5 separate regions of the Homo sapiens genome follow, and all the other regions are linked to region 1. Evidence: promoter capture Hi-C in 16 types of primary human blood cells and fetal thymus (Javierre and others, 2016). All regions are on one chromosome and are shown on one strand. Each heading gives the region's core, a stretch centred on a gene start or on the middle of the fragment in contact. The rest is flanking DNA. Distances are from core to core; before and after follow the strand shown. Region 1 holds the start of SYCP3 (synaptonemal complex protein 3). Region 2 has its middle 18 kb from the start of MYBPC1. Region 3 has its middle 45 kb from the start of SPIC. Region 4 has its middle 36 kb from the start of MYBPC1. Region 5 has its middle 28 kb from the start of DRAM1-AS1.

Region 1 (2,773 bases), core at 211-2,710:
CTAGGAGTTTGAGAACAGCCTGGGCAACATAGTGAGACCCCATCTCGGCAAACTTTTTTTTTTTTTTTTTCTTAATTAGCCAGGCATGGTGGCACGTGCATGAGTCCCAGCTACGCAGGAGGCAGAGACAGGGGGATCATTTGGGCCCAGGAAATCAAGGCTGCAGTGAGCCGTGATCATGCCATGCCACTGCACTTCAGCCTTGGCAAGAGAGCAAAACCCTGTCTCAAAAAAAAAAAAAAAAAAAAAGTAAAATGTATGATTTCAAATAGAAAAAGGATTGCAGAGCTGTGAGCAAACTAAGGCAGGTACAAAGGTTGAAATATATTTTAAAATTATTTGGGGGAAAATACATATAAGCACAGAAAAAAGGATGAAAGGCAATAATACCCCCAATTTTAAACTGTATATTATTTCTGGGTAGTGGGATTATAGGTGAGTTTCATTTCCTTCATAAATTGTATCTTCAAAAATTGTTTTGCAATTGATAGGTGATTTCCAGTTACACCAAATAATTGTTTTACAATTATACTCCCACCCACTGAATGGGTTCCCTTTGTTACATAGATTCATCATCACTCCGTGTAGTCATATTTTGTAGTTTTGCCATTCTAGTGGACTGTCAGAACACTACATAGACTATGGGACAATTTTTTGTAATGCCAAACGCGAACGAAACTAAGCCGTGTTGTTTAACGACACATTTTCATGTGGTAATAAAACTTAGAAAATAAGGAAGGGTGAATGATTTACATAAATTTAGGATAATTTTCTTATATCCCTGAATGGGGAAGGGTGGGGTCCTGGTGAGGATCGGATGGAAAGGCCTGCCTGAGGAGATTCAGTGAATGTTGGTAAAGCCCTACTTCATAAATTAGGTGGTATGTTCATCATGTTTCATAATTTACATATTATTCCGCAATTTTCTTTTTTTTTTTCTTGACATGGAGTCTCACTCTGTTGCCCAGGCTGGAGTACAATGGCATGGTCTTGCTCACTGCAACCTCTGCCTCCCGGGTTCAAGCGATTCTCCTGCCTCAGCTTCCCAAGTAGCTGGGATTACAGGCGCCCGCCACCACGTCCGGCTAATTTTTGTATTTTTAGTAGAGATGGGTTTCGCCATGTTGGACAGGCTGGTCTGGAACTCCTGACCTCAAGTGATCCGTCTGCCTCGGCCTCCCAAAGTGCTGGGATTACAGGTGTGAGCCACTGCGCCTAGCTGCAATTTTCGATTATAAACATTTAAAACTTAAAAACTGGAAGGCACCAGGCCTCAAGTGTACTCGCAACCCGCTCCGGCGGCCAAAGCACCCTGGGCCAGCTATTTGGGCGCGCAATCGCCCCATGGGGGCGGAGCCTCGCCACCCAGTTCACGCCTGCGCTCTGCGTCCAGCCAATCAGCGACGTGTCCGGATGAGGCGGGACTGGCTTTTCTCCTGTGCGAATCCCAGCTTGCCTCAGAAGCGTCGCGGAGAAGGGGCCACCTCAGGTGAAGCGCGCTTGTGGAGGAGTTGTGGAGGACGCCTGTCGACGACCAGTAACTGGTCCTCGGCCATTGCGGTGTGTTTCAGGTGTGAGCAGGGGAGGCGTCTGTCTATCGCAGGTGTCCAGGCCAGAGGCTGCCCTTGACCAGTGAGGTAAATCTTACCTCCTGGCGTCGCCTGGGGCCTCTGACGAGAAAACGGAGGCCGCGAACCTGAGGACAGGGCCTTGAGCAGGATAGGGCCTAGTGGAAAGCGGGCGGGCTGGGCTGGGGCTGGGCCCCATCGCTACACCCTGGGACCACTTACAGGAGGGACGCGGCGGGGCCGGGCAGGGCCCTACCTCGCTCCGCGCGTCTCCCTCCTGCCCGCTCCACGCCGAGGGCGCCTTTCGTGGTTCCTCGATGTATTTGTTGTCGAAATCTTCTGCCTGTGTTCATTTTCCGAGACCTAAATTGCGGGACGTTTTTATTATTTGTCTTGATTATTATGAGCTTATTTCTGGCATCCTCATGTCGTGTCCCGCCAGCAACTATAATTTCCCCGCGTGACTGAGCGCCCTGCTAGAGTTGCCCAGATTTAGCCAGAATCTGGCAGAGGCGGCCCCAAAATTTGGAACTCCCAGGCCTCAGGGGCCACCTCTCCAGCACTGCGCGCTTGGAGTCGGGGTGGACACTGTCATTCTCTCTCATCGATTGATTGATTGAGACGAAGTCTCACTCTGTCGCCCAGGCTGGAGTGCAGTGGGGCCATCTCAGCTCACTGCAACCTCCGCCTCCCGGGTTGAAGCGATTCTTCTGCCTCAGCCTCCTGAGTAACTGAGATCATAGGCACCCGCCACCGCGCCCGGCTAATTTTGTATTTTTAGTAGAGACGGGGTTTCACCATGTTGGCCAGGCTGGTCTCAAACTCCTGACCTCAGGTGATCCACCCACCTCGGCCTCCCAAAGTGATGGGATTACAGGCATGAGCCACAGCGCCCGGCCATTTCTGTTGTTGTTTTTTTTTTTTGAGACGAAGTTTCACTCTTGTCACCCAGGCTGGAGTGCAGTGGCTGCGATCTTGGCTCACTGTGACCTCTGTCTCCCGGGTTCAAGCGATTCTCCTGCCTCAGCCTCCTGAGCAGCTGGGACTACAGGCACGTGCCACCACGCCCGGTTAATTTTGTTTTTTTTTTTCAGTAGAGACGGGGTTTCATCATGTTGGCCAGGCTGGTCTTGAACTCCTGACCTCAGGTGATCTGCCTGCCTCAACCTTCCAAAGTGCTGGGATTTCAGGCGTGAGCTACCGTG
Region 2 (2,700 bases), core at 157-2,656, 160 kb after region 1:
TTATGTATACACAAATCCTGTCAAGTTTAAAAGTCTTTGCTGTAAATGACAAACCTATGCACATATATTAAGAGCTGAAGAAACACAAAATGCAAGCAAATGAGCAAACTGGTTTGAAGTTGGCTTCGAATTACAGCTACTTGAGAATAGACAGAGAATTGGGTGATACAGATTAAAGGACAACCTTCTTTCAAGTGTCAAAGCCCAAAACACACTGTTTATAAAAAGAAGCTCAGGATGACAGTGGAGTAGAGAGAAGAATCACTAAGCATCTCCGGAGCTGTAGGTCTCAAGTCTGGACAAAATTTCTAGTTCTAAATGACTTTCATTAATTGGGGTGAGAGGGCAACCTCAGTTAACTAGTACAGTAATCATCTTCATTGAATATTCATTTTTTAAAACCCCAGAAAGATTTAGAACTATGTGTAGAAAATTTTCAGAGAATCAAAACTAATGCATTAATATTAGACATTTGTACTGTGCTAGTTAAGAGACAGTCTTGTAATTCTAATTTAAAATGTGTAATTGTGTAAATAATTTATACTTTTGGCCAGGCACGGTGGCTATCACCTGCAATCCCAGCACTTTCCGAGGCCAAGGTGGGCGGATCATTTGAGGTCAGGAGTTTGAAACCAGCCCGGCCAACGAAGCAAAACCCCATCTCTACTAAAAATTAAAAAAAAAATTGCCAGACATGGTGTCGCACACCTGTGATCCTAGGTGTTCAGGAGCCTGAGGCATTAGAATCTCTTGAAACTGGGAGGCAGAGGTTGCAATGAGCAGAGATTGTGCCACTGCACTCCAGCCTGGGAGACAGAGTGAGACCCTGCCTCCAAAAAATAAAAAATTAAAAAAAATTTATACTTTTGATTTTAAGTTGAAATCTCACTAAATTTATGGGCAGCATTAACATATTTCAGAGCGTTTTCATTTATGCACATGTACATGCACAGCAGTTAAGCATTTAAGAACTCATTTAGTTCATAAAAGCAAAATATTTAAAAAGAAAACAAATATATTAAACTTATAAAATCTAGCCTATTAAAGTGATGTGATGTTTTAGAAAGATTATTTAGCTTTAGCTAACTAGATTTGTAAATGAAACAATATTATTATATCTTCTCAAAAGTGATGGATAGACTGGGCATGGTGGCTCACATCTGTAATCCCAGCGCTTTGGGAGGTCAAGGAGGACGGATCACCTGAGGTTGGGAGTTCAAGACCAGCCTGACCAACACGGAGAAACCCCATCTCTACTAAAAATACAAAATTAGCTGGGGCGTGGTGGCGCATGTCTGTAATCCCAGCTACTCGGGAGGCTGAGGCAGGAGAATCGCTTGAACCCAGGAGGCAGAGGTTGCGGTGAGCTGAGATTGCACCATTGCACTCCAGCCTGGGCAACGAGAGTGAAACTCTGTCTCAAAAAAAAAAAAAAGTGATGGATAAACTTTGCCAGAAAAAATAATAATAATTAGATGTTTAAGCTGAATTTAAAAGTTTTAAAAATTATGCTTATGAATGTATAATTATAATAAATTTAATACCTATTGTGTATTCCAAAGTAAACCTCTGAACAACGTTTTCCGCATACAAAAGCCTCCACAGCACCCTAAACCTTCCACGCATAGGGAGCATCTCTTGCTTCTGATTTGATTCCACCAGCATCCTGAGATAACTAAGACTCTGTGGCCAATCTTTAGGGGATTTCAATTCAATTCATCTCAACACCCCTTTATTGAGCACCTTTTCTGGGCCCAGCACAGTGTTAGCACTGGCTATTCAACAAAGAAGAAGATCCAGAGTGTTGCCTGCATAGAACCTATAGTTTCGGGGAAGACAGGCAAGTAAACAGTTATGCTAGTGGCGGTTTACCACATTATTTCCCATGGTGGTGGGATGGGTTGAGCACCTCTTCATACCAGCTCATTCTTGCCGATGCCATCTTGCCATTGTTGGTCTATGATAGTTTTTGTTGGTGGCACCATGAAACTATTCAAGAAGCCAGATATTATTTCTTTCATTGGTTGAAGAAGCTGTGTCTCCACCTGCATAAAGGATTTCTTAGGGTCAAAGTTGCATTCGCTACACAGAATGGCTGTTGTTTCTCCCATTTTTCTCATCAGGTGAATAGTCCCACCTTCACCCCAATCATGCAGATTAGGAGATTTGACTCCTCATTAACTCCACCATCCTCCAAGCTCTACTAAGTCTATTTCCACCATTACACCATGGTCATTTCCTGTCAGAGACAAATGGAGATTATCATAATTCAACATATAGATCAAGTCTCCAGTTACATTCATAGATCTTTGCTTGTATGCAATTTGCATCCTGGGACATATTTCCAAGCATACTTTCTCAAGTAGAAGATCTAGAGAGTCACATCCAAATGAATTTTATGTAAATGTCCTAAATCTCCAACAGCATGTTAAAAATTCTACAGTTTGCATGTCATCTTGAGCCCTCCACACAGGACCTTGGCCATGTCCCATGAAGTTTGGGTCTGCTCTATAATCTCAATAAGAGAATTCTAATTTTTTTCCAGAAAGCTCCTGAAGATGGAGAAGTTTGAGAGATGGTATCAAAGATATCATGATACCTCTTATACCTTCCTATATGGGATTAAGAACTTTTCCACAAAGATCCTTCTAATCCTAAGGGCTATGTGGATCGGCTGTCTGAACCTTCCAGGCTAACAAC
Region 3 (2,776 bases), core at 205-2,704, 220 kb after region 1:
TATTTAGATTGTTTATTTTGAGGCCCTGATGGAGATTTGGTGGACTTTGTGTAGACCTTCCAAGATACCTGTTGGTACCACCACTGGGTTGTTGAGTGGATTTAGTAAGATAAGATTTAAAAGCCCTTAGCAGAGTTCCTGGCACATAATAAGGGCTCAACAAATGTTCCCTGCTGCATCGATGCCATGTGGATGCTCAGAAGAGTAACATAAGGTCCCCTTCTAAACAAACAATCAAACTGGGTTTTCCAAAGTGGGCAAGGGAGGGTGGGTGTCTCAACAAGTCCCTGGGGAGTACCAGTGTCCAGAGAAGAGACAAGCTTCGAGTTCAACTAGTAGATCTTTAAGGACTCAAAATGTAATTTCCCCAAATACATTGTCTCTCAATAAAAAAAAAAAAAAGAAGTTTGGAAGTTTATAAGATGTTTCATTCAAAGGAGACTTTGAATAGGAGACTTAAGAGTCTCCCTACTTTTGAATCCTTAGAAAAATTTATATTATGACTGATATAGTTTGGCTCTCTGTCCCCATCCAAATCTGATGTCAAACTGTAATCCCCATGTGTCAGGGAAGGACCTGGTGGAAAGTGATTGCATCATGGGGACAGATTTCCCCCATGCTGTTCTCATGATAGTGAGTGAGTTCTCACGAGATCTGATGGTTTAAAAGTGTGACATCTCCCCCCACCACTTGTCTTCTGCCTCCCTGTGAAGAAAGTGCTTGCTTCCCCATCATGATTGTAAGTTTCCAAAGGCCTCCCAGTCATGCTTCCTGTTAAGCCTGCAGAACTGTGAGTCAATTAAACCTCTTTTCTTCATAAATTACCCAGTCTCAGGTAGTTCTTTATAGCAGTGAGAAAACAGACTTATACACTGCCACACTCTTGCAATTACTTTATTTTTTGCAACAAAGTTCTGTTTGGGGAAGAGTTATTTGTCTGAAACCACCTCGATCAATGTTCATCTGAAAGGCTTATAAAATTGGTAAAAATGGAGATGAAAAATCTAACACAGATTTAGTTATAATTTCTGAGGATGTGACTTCACAATTGTGAGTGTTGGTGTCAGCAAGATTTTTAAAGTTCACTTTAAATTTATTCCTTCTATCTTACTATATGTTGTACCCTTTAATCCACTTCTATTCATCCCCTCCTCTCCCCACAGCTCACCCTTCCCAGTCTCTGTTATCTATATTTTCACTCTTACCTCCATGTGAGCAAATATTTTAGCTCCCACATATGAGCCAGAATGTGTGGTATTTGTCTTTTTGTGCCTGGCTTATTTCACTTAAGATAATGGCTTCCAATTCCATCCATGTTGCTGCAAATGACATGACTTTATTCTTTTTTATGGTCTAATAGTTTCCTATTGTGCGTATATAACACATTTTAAAATCCAGTCATCTGTTGATGGACATTTAGGTTGATTCCATATCTTTGCTATTGCGAATAGCTCTGTGATAAACATGTGAGGACAGGTATCCCGTTGATATATTGATTTCTTTTCTTGTGGGTAGATACCCAGTAGTGGGATTGCTGGATCATATGGAAGTTCTATTTTTAGTTTTTTGAGACACCTCCATACTGTTTTCCATAGTGGCTATTCTAATTTTCATTCCCACCAACAGTGTGTAAGAGTTCTCTTTTTTCCGCATCCTAGCCATCTGTTATTTTTTTGTATAAAAAAGATGACCTTAACGTTTGCAAATGAGTACTTGGTCTTGCAATGACATTTCTTGTAATGGAATCATAAGTGATTCAAGGAGAGCTATAGAAACAATTCAGATGGCAAGGACAAATTAGGTTGGTGGCTTAAAAAGTGGCCCCAGTGACTTGGATGCTAAAGACCCATGTAAAAATGGAATAAAAACATTCTGTAGAATAAGAACACTTTTAAAAAACACTTTTCCTGGCCAGGCGCAGTGGCTCACACCTGTAATCCCAGCACTTTGGGAGGCTGAGGAGGGTGGATCACGAGGTCAGGAGTTTGAGACCAGCCTGACCAACATGGTGAAACCCCATCTCTACTAAAAACACAAAAATTAGCTGGGTGTGGTGGCAGGCACCTGTAATCCCAGCTACTCAGAAGGCTGAGGCAGGAGAATAACTTGAACCCAGGAGGCGGAGGTTGCAGTTAGCTGAGATCGTGCCGTTATACTCCAGCCTGGGTGACAGAGCAAGACTTTGTCTCAAAAAAAAAAGCAGTTTTTCTGAGTTAATATTGGCTGTGGGTTGAAAGTATGTGTCCCCTCCAAATTCATATTTTGAATCTCTAATTCCCAATGTGACTGTATTGGAGTAAGGATGTAATTAAGGTTAAAAGGGGTCTTTAAGGGTGGGGCCCTGATCTCCTGGGATTAGTGTCTTTATAAGAAGAGACACTAAAGAGTTCTCTGTCTCTCGCCTTCTCCTCCCCACCTCTTGAGGACAGAGCAAGAAGATAGCAATTGCCATGCCAGGAAGGGAGCCCTCATTGGGAACTAAATTGGCTGGCACCTTGATCTTGGACTTCCCACACTCCAGAACTGTGAGAAATAAATTTCTGTTGTTAAAGCCACCAAGTCTGCTGTGTTTTGCTGTAGAAGCTTATATTAGTCAGGGTTCTCCAAAAAAATAGAATGTGTGTGTGTGTGTGTGTGTGTGTGTGTGTGTAAAGAGATTTATTGTAATGAATTGGCTTATCCAATTATAAAGGCGGAGAAGTCTCAAGATCAGCAGTCAGTGAGCTGGAGATGTGGGACAGCTGATGGTGTAGCTCCAGTCTGAATTTGAAGGCCT
Region 4 (2,700 bases), core at 166-2,665, 180 kb after region 1:
TTTACCTATGTAACAAACCTGCACGTCCTGCACACGTATCCTGGAACTTAAAATAAAATTAAATTAAAAGAATAAATAAATAAAATAAAGTATCAATAAAATTAAAGAGACAAATAATTCAATGTTAAAATACCAACTACTGACATTTACAAAATTTTAAGACCTTTTGCTTTTAATCATTGTGTAAGTAATTTTTGTAAAATTAAGATCGAGCAACATATCCTAATCTGCCTTTTCAAGTAACAGTAACTTACAGAGTTTTCCATTCACATATTCATTTACTTATTCATTTCATAAGTTATAAAGTGGTAGTAATCATAATGATATGCATATCTCATTTAATCCTCAGAGCAAATCTATGAGCTAGACACTATTGCTATTGCCATTTCTAAATAAAGACATCAAAGCTCACAGATAAGCAACGTGCCTATGGTCACACAGCCAGCAACTAGTAGAGCCAGAACTCAAACACATGCCCAACAGATACCATACTTCTGGCCTCTACTATTCTATTGCTCTATGACTTAGTACCTTGTGGTTTGCTTAACTACTGCCTGCTTTTCAGCCATGTGGGTTTTCTATAGCACTGCCGTAGAAACATTCATACCCTTTTTTATTTATTTATTTTTTATTATACTTTAAGTTCTAAGGTACATGTGCACAACGTGCAGATTTGTTACACATGTATAAATGTGCCATGTTGGTGTGCTGCACCCATTAACTCATCATTTACATTACGTATATCTCCTAATGCTATCACTCCCCGCTCCCCCCACCCCACGACAGGCCCCGGTGTGTGATGTTCCCCACCCTGAGTCCAAGTGTTCTCATTGTTCAATTCGCATCTATGAGTAAGAACATGCGATGTTTGGTTTTCTGTCCTTGCGATAGTTTGCTCAGAATGATGATTTCCAGCTTCATCCATGTCCCTAAAAAGGACATGAACTCATCCATTTTTATGGCTGCATAGTATTCCATGGTGTATATGTGCCACATTTTCTTAATCCAGTCTATACATTGATGGACATTTGGGTTGGTTCCAAATCTTTGCTACTGTGAATAGTGCTGCAGTAAACATACATGTGCATGTGTCTTTATAGCAGCACGATTTATAATCCTTTGGGTATATACCCAGTAATGGGATCACTGGGTCAAATGGTATTTCTAGTTCTAGATCCTTGAGGAATTGCCGCACTGTCTTCCACAATGGCTGAACTAGTTTACGTCCCACCAACAGTGTAAAAGTGTTCCTATTTCTCCACACCCTCTCCAGCACCTGTTGTTTCCTGACTTTTTAATGATTGCCATTCTAACTGGTGTGAGATGGTATCTCATTGTGGTTTTGATTTGCATTTCTCTGATGACCAGTGATGATGAGCATTTTTTCCATGTGTCTTTTGGCTGCATAAATGTCTTCTTTTGAGAAGTGTCTGTTCATATCCTTTGCCCACTTTTTGTTGGGGTTGTTTGTTTTTTTCTTGTAAATTTGTTTAAGTCCTTTGTAGATTCTGGATATTAGCCCTTTGTCAGATGGGTAGATTGTAAAAATTTTCTCCCATTCTGTAGGTTGTCTGTTCACTCTGATGGTAGTTTCTTTTGCTGTGCAGAAGCTCTTTAGTTTAATTAGATCCCATTTGTCAATTTTGGCTTTTATTGCCATTGCTTTTGGTGTTTTAGTCATGAAGTCCTTGCCCATGCCTATGTCCTGAATGGTCATACCATTTTTTTTTTTAAGGAAAGAAGTCATAAAGAGAAGAGATGTAGCTATTTCTTTGGCTATATCCCAAAGAGAGTATAATTCATTTAATCCTCCCCATAATGATTCCACTGATTTTCAAGGTCCCCAAATATCTGTCCACATACCAGTTTCTCAACGGACCGCCAACACGGAGGATTCTTTTTCTCAACAGTTTATACCTCCAACCTCAAGGTAACTAATGGTAACAGTTGATGTGTATCCTTCCACACATTTTTCTATTTTGGACAAATACATTTGTGCATATGTAAGCCTTTTCCTTTTTCCTTTTTAAATATTTGAATGTGCTGGGTGCCATGGCTTGTACCTATAATTTCAGCTACTTGGGAGACTGAGGCAGGAGGATGACTTGAGCCCAGAAGTTTAAGGCTGCAGTGAGCTCTGATCATGCCACAACACACCAGCCCAGGCAACAGAGCAAGACCCCATCTCTGAGGGAAAAAAAAATGTTGAATAGATTGAACTATGCACATTATAGTACAAATTTTTGATTTCCCTCAATATATCTCGAATATTACTAAGGCAATACATATAGCACTAATTCACTATTTTTATTAGTGTGAATATATAAAAATTTTTCATTTTTTCCATCTTATTGGTCATTCGAGTTGCTTCCAAAATTTTTGCCCAAATAATGCTTCAGTAAACATCCTTATATGAATAGCTTTATATTCTGGTACTTTCATTTATTTAGGAGAGACTTCAGGAAGAACAATTCCTGGGTAAAGGGGTATCATATTTTTTATTTTGGTGCATACTGCTACGTTTCCTTCCCCAAAACTTGTAGTAACTCAAAGTCTTAACAGCAACATATCGCAATGTCTATTGCACAATATCTTTGTCAGCACTGAATGCTACCAATATTTTAAATATTTCCCCCAATATTTTCCCCCCAAAATGGTATCTTATTATTATTATTTTTTGAGATGGAGTCTCGCTCTGTT
Region 5 (2,700 bases), core at 126-2,625, 200 kb before region 1:
GATGGGATTGGGTAAGGGAAACTTCTGGAAGGAGAGGAGGGAGGTACTTGGTAAACAATATAAGAGATGCCTGCTAAAACTTCCCTTATCTACCTTTTCATGCCAACTCAACTTAGCTATCAATCAACAATTCCACTCATTTAATAAGCACCTATTTGCTTATTGAGTGTCTGTTACATGCCAGGTGCTGTGCTAGATTTCAGGGATGCAAAGGGGAACATGACGCTTTTTAAGTTATGTTCCTCTTAGAATGCTAGGCATTCAGAGAGACAGAGGAATATCAAATATTATGGGTTTAGGATGTCTAGGAACTCACCATATAACTGGAGAAAGGAGACTATGTATTTGGAGAATAATAAGTGTTAAACTGTGTGCCATGGGTGATGAGGGTAAGAGAAACTTCAAGGTAACTGAGGTCAGCAAGGCCTGGAGCATTCAGGAGAGGAGAAGCGTCTTGGAGAGATACTTCTGTGAGGTCTTTAAAGGGTGAGGAAGCTTTGTTTATGACTACATGTGTTTAAAGTGCAGTATTTTCACAACATCACACTAAGTGAGGCCCTCTGCATCTGGAGGCGTTCTGGAATGCAGCCGTCAGCCAGTGGCCCTGTTCCTTTCTCAGAGACAGGACTACCACCCACAGCTCTTCTGATAGCCTTGTTTTCAATTGCCATGGCCTGTTGGATCAAAGCCTCTGAGTTTGATGCAAGTTCAAAATAATTTCCTTCAAGGATTAACTCATCTTTTTGGGCCTGAGGAGCTACAACAAGCAACATCTGGTATAGCCTGCAGAGGGATTTTTTTTTTCACCCAAGGAGTTTCAAGTTTCAACATGTGAGCCATCCTGCTGAATAACATCATTGACGGGAAATGACACGCAGAGACCTTATCTTGTAATGAGAGCTCTGTGTAACACCCCACAGTCATGTTTTGCATCGACTATAATAGATGGTGCAAACTGTAACAGGTTCCTTCTCACTTTGTTTCCTGCCAAAGTGACTGAGTTCCACACTGATGGGGTTGAAATCCCCTTGTGGGTTTCCTCTGGGGCCATTCCATAGCCCATCCTAGTGCCGTTAATAACACCCTCCCTGTGTTCGTCAGGCCCACCTTTTAATGCCGTCATAGGGAGTCTCTTGGTCAGTTCCTATTATCTGATCCCATTAGTCACTTCCCTGTCTGCCTAGGTCTCCTGGAAAATTCCTGGGACTATCTCCTTGCTTTTGGTAAATCCTGGCTTCATTCCTCCACGCTGTGTTTTCTGTATTCCCAGCTCTCCCCTTTGCATCCCTTGGGCTAGTCCCACCACCCCTGGAATTCTCTCTGAGGTCAAGATTTTGCAATGTTTTTAAAGGTGAAACAGTGTAATAGCTACAGTTGAGTGTTATGTGTCAGGGATGTATTATTTATAGGGGTGCTATTATCATCACCCATGACTTACCAGTGAGAAAAATGAGGCTCAGAGTTTGATTGAATTGCCCAGGTACAAGACATAAACCCACATCTTTCTCACACTTAAGACTGTGCTCTTTTTAAGGGATAAAATAGGGACCTAAAGAATGGTCATGGGAGTCCCGAGTTCCAAGCAGAGGAGGGAGAAGGAAAGAGAAATGAGGAAAACTCCAAGAGTGGCAGCTCTGAATTCAAAGGAGGAGAATTTTGAGACATAGTCAACTGCGTCTAAAGCTGGAACAGGTTTGAGAATATAGACACCATTGGCATGAAGATGCCTATTGGCAAATCTTTTCAACAAAGATTTCAGTAATGGGTCTGGAAGAGGTTATTAGGAAGAGGGTAAAACGATATAGATGGCAAACAAAAGCAAAGAGCAGCCACATAGATGGTGGAATAAAGCAGGTGAGTTGTTTTGTATCCACTAAATGGAAAACTCTGGGGCAGGTCCCAGAAACTGTGTTTTAACAAACCCTCCAGGTGATTCTGATGCACACTAAAGTTAGCAAACCGCTACAGCAGAACCGTGTTTCTCAGCCTTGGCTGCACACTGAAATCACCTGAAATAATAATGCTTCCATCTGACTTCCTGAAATTCTGATTTAATTGCTCCAGGCAACAGGGTTTTAAAAAAAAACTCTCCAGGTGATTCTCATGTGCAGCCAGAGTTGAAAACTGCTGCTGTACAGGGAGAAGACAGTTGAGGGTATGCAGTCGAGAGGGAGGTGGAAGGGCTATAACAGCATCTGCCATGCACAGCTCTGGCTGTGCCAGGCAAACTGCTAAGGCTGGGCATTTCAAGCTTCAATGGGCAGGCATAAGGATCACCAACAAGTTCCCAGGTGCTTTACAGGCATTGCTTCAAGGAATCCTCGTGACAAGCCTACAAGGCAGGTGCTAGCATTATTCCCACTTTACAGATAAGGGTACTGAGACACCAAGACGTTATCTGACTTGACTGAGGCGTGACAGAAAGGAAATGGTAGGTCTTGAAAATTAGGTCTTGATTCCAAAGTACTTATTCTTTAAAAAAATTATGATAAAATATACATAACATAAAATGTACCACTTTAATCATTTTAAAGTATTTACAATTTCATGGTATTCACAATGTTGTACAACTATCCATTTCCAGGAATTTTTCACCATCCCAAACAGAAACTCTTGTCCATTAAGCAATAATTCCCCATCTCCCCCTGTCCCCAGCCCCTAGTAACTTCTATTCTGCTTTTTCTTTATGAATCAAAGTAC

What was found. The method cuts DNA at HindIII sites, captures the fragments that hold promoters and counts their contacts. A CHiCAGO score of 5 or more calls a contact.
Region 2: a contact is called between a fragment that was not itself captured here and the fragment with the promoter of SYCP3 in region 1, in 4 of 17 cell types (total B cells, naive B cells, M0 macrophages and 1 more). The highest score is 13.8, in total B cells.
Region 3: a contact is called between a fragment that was not itself captured here and the fragment with the promoter of SYCP3 in region 1, in 1 of 17 cell types (M1 macrophages). The highest score is 7.1, in M1 macrophages.
Region 4: a fragment that was not itself captured here is called in contact with the fragment with the promoter of SYCP3 in region 1 in 4 of 17 cell types (naive B cells, M1 macrophages, M0 macrophages and 1 more); the score reaches 7.8 in naive B cells.
Region 5: a fragment that was not itself captured here is called in contact with the fragment with the promoter of SYCP3 in region 1 in 2 of 17 cell types (neutrophils and total B cells); the score reaches 6.2 in neutrophils.

The regions. Positions count from the first base shown.
Region 1 is chr12:101,738,149-101,740,921 of GRCh38, reverse strand. It overlaps SYCP3 (synaptonemal complex protein 3), which reads left to right and starts at 1,460. Exons shown (of 9, transcript NM_001177949.2): 1 at 1,460-1,571. The HindIII fragment of the contact is 5,223 bases long and covers 1-2,773 here.
Region 2 is chr12:101,576,029-101,578,728 of GRCh38, reverse strand. No RefSeq gene overlaps it. Among named protein-coding and RNA genes, the nearest start is that of MYBPC1, 18 kb to the left of the region's middle. The HindIII fragment of the contact is 7,387 bases long and covers 1-2,700 here.
Region 3 is chr12:101,519,192-101,521,967 of GRCh38, reverse strand. No RefSeq gene overlaps it. Among named protein-coding and RNA genes, the nearest start is that of SPIC, 45 kb to the right of the region's middle. The HindIII fragment of the contact is 2,263 bases long and covers 323-2,585 here.
Region 4 is chr12:101,557,177-101,559,876 of GRCh38, reverse strand. No RefSeq gene overlaps it. Among named protein-coding and RNA genes, the nearest start is that of MYBPC1, 36 kb to the left of the region's middle. The HindIII fragment of the contact is 6,553 bases long and covers 1-2,700 here.
Region 5 is chr12:101,934,565-101,937,264 of GRCh38, reverse strand. It overlaps the pseudogene RPL9P24. Among named protein-coding and RNA genes, the nearest start is that of DRAM1-AS1, 28 kb to the left of the region's middle. RefSeq lists an enhancer at 700-959. The HindIII fragment of the contact is 1,756 bases long and covers 498-2,253 here.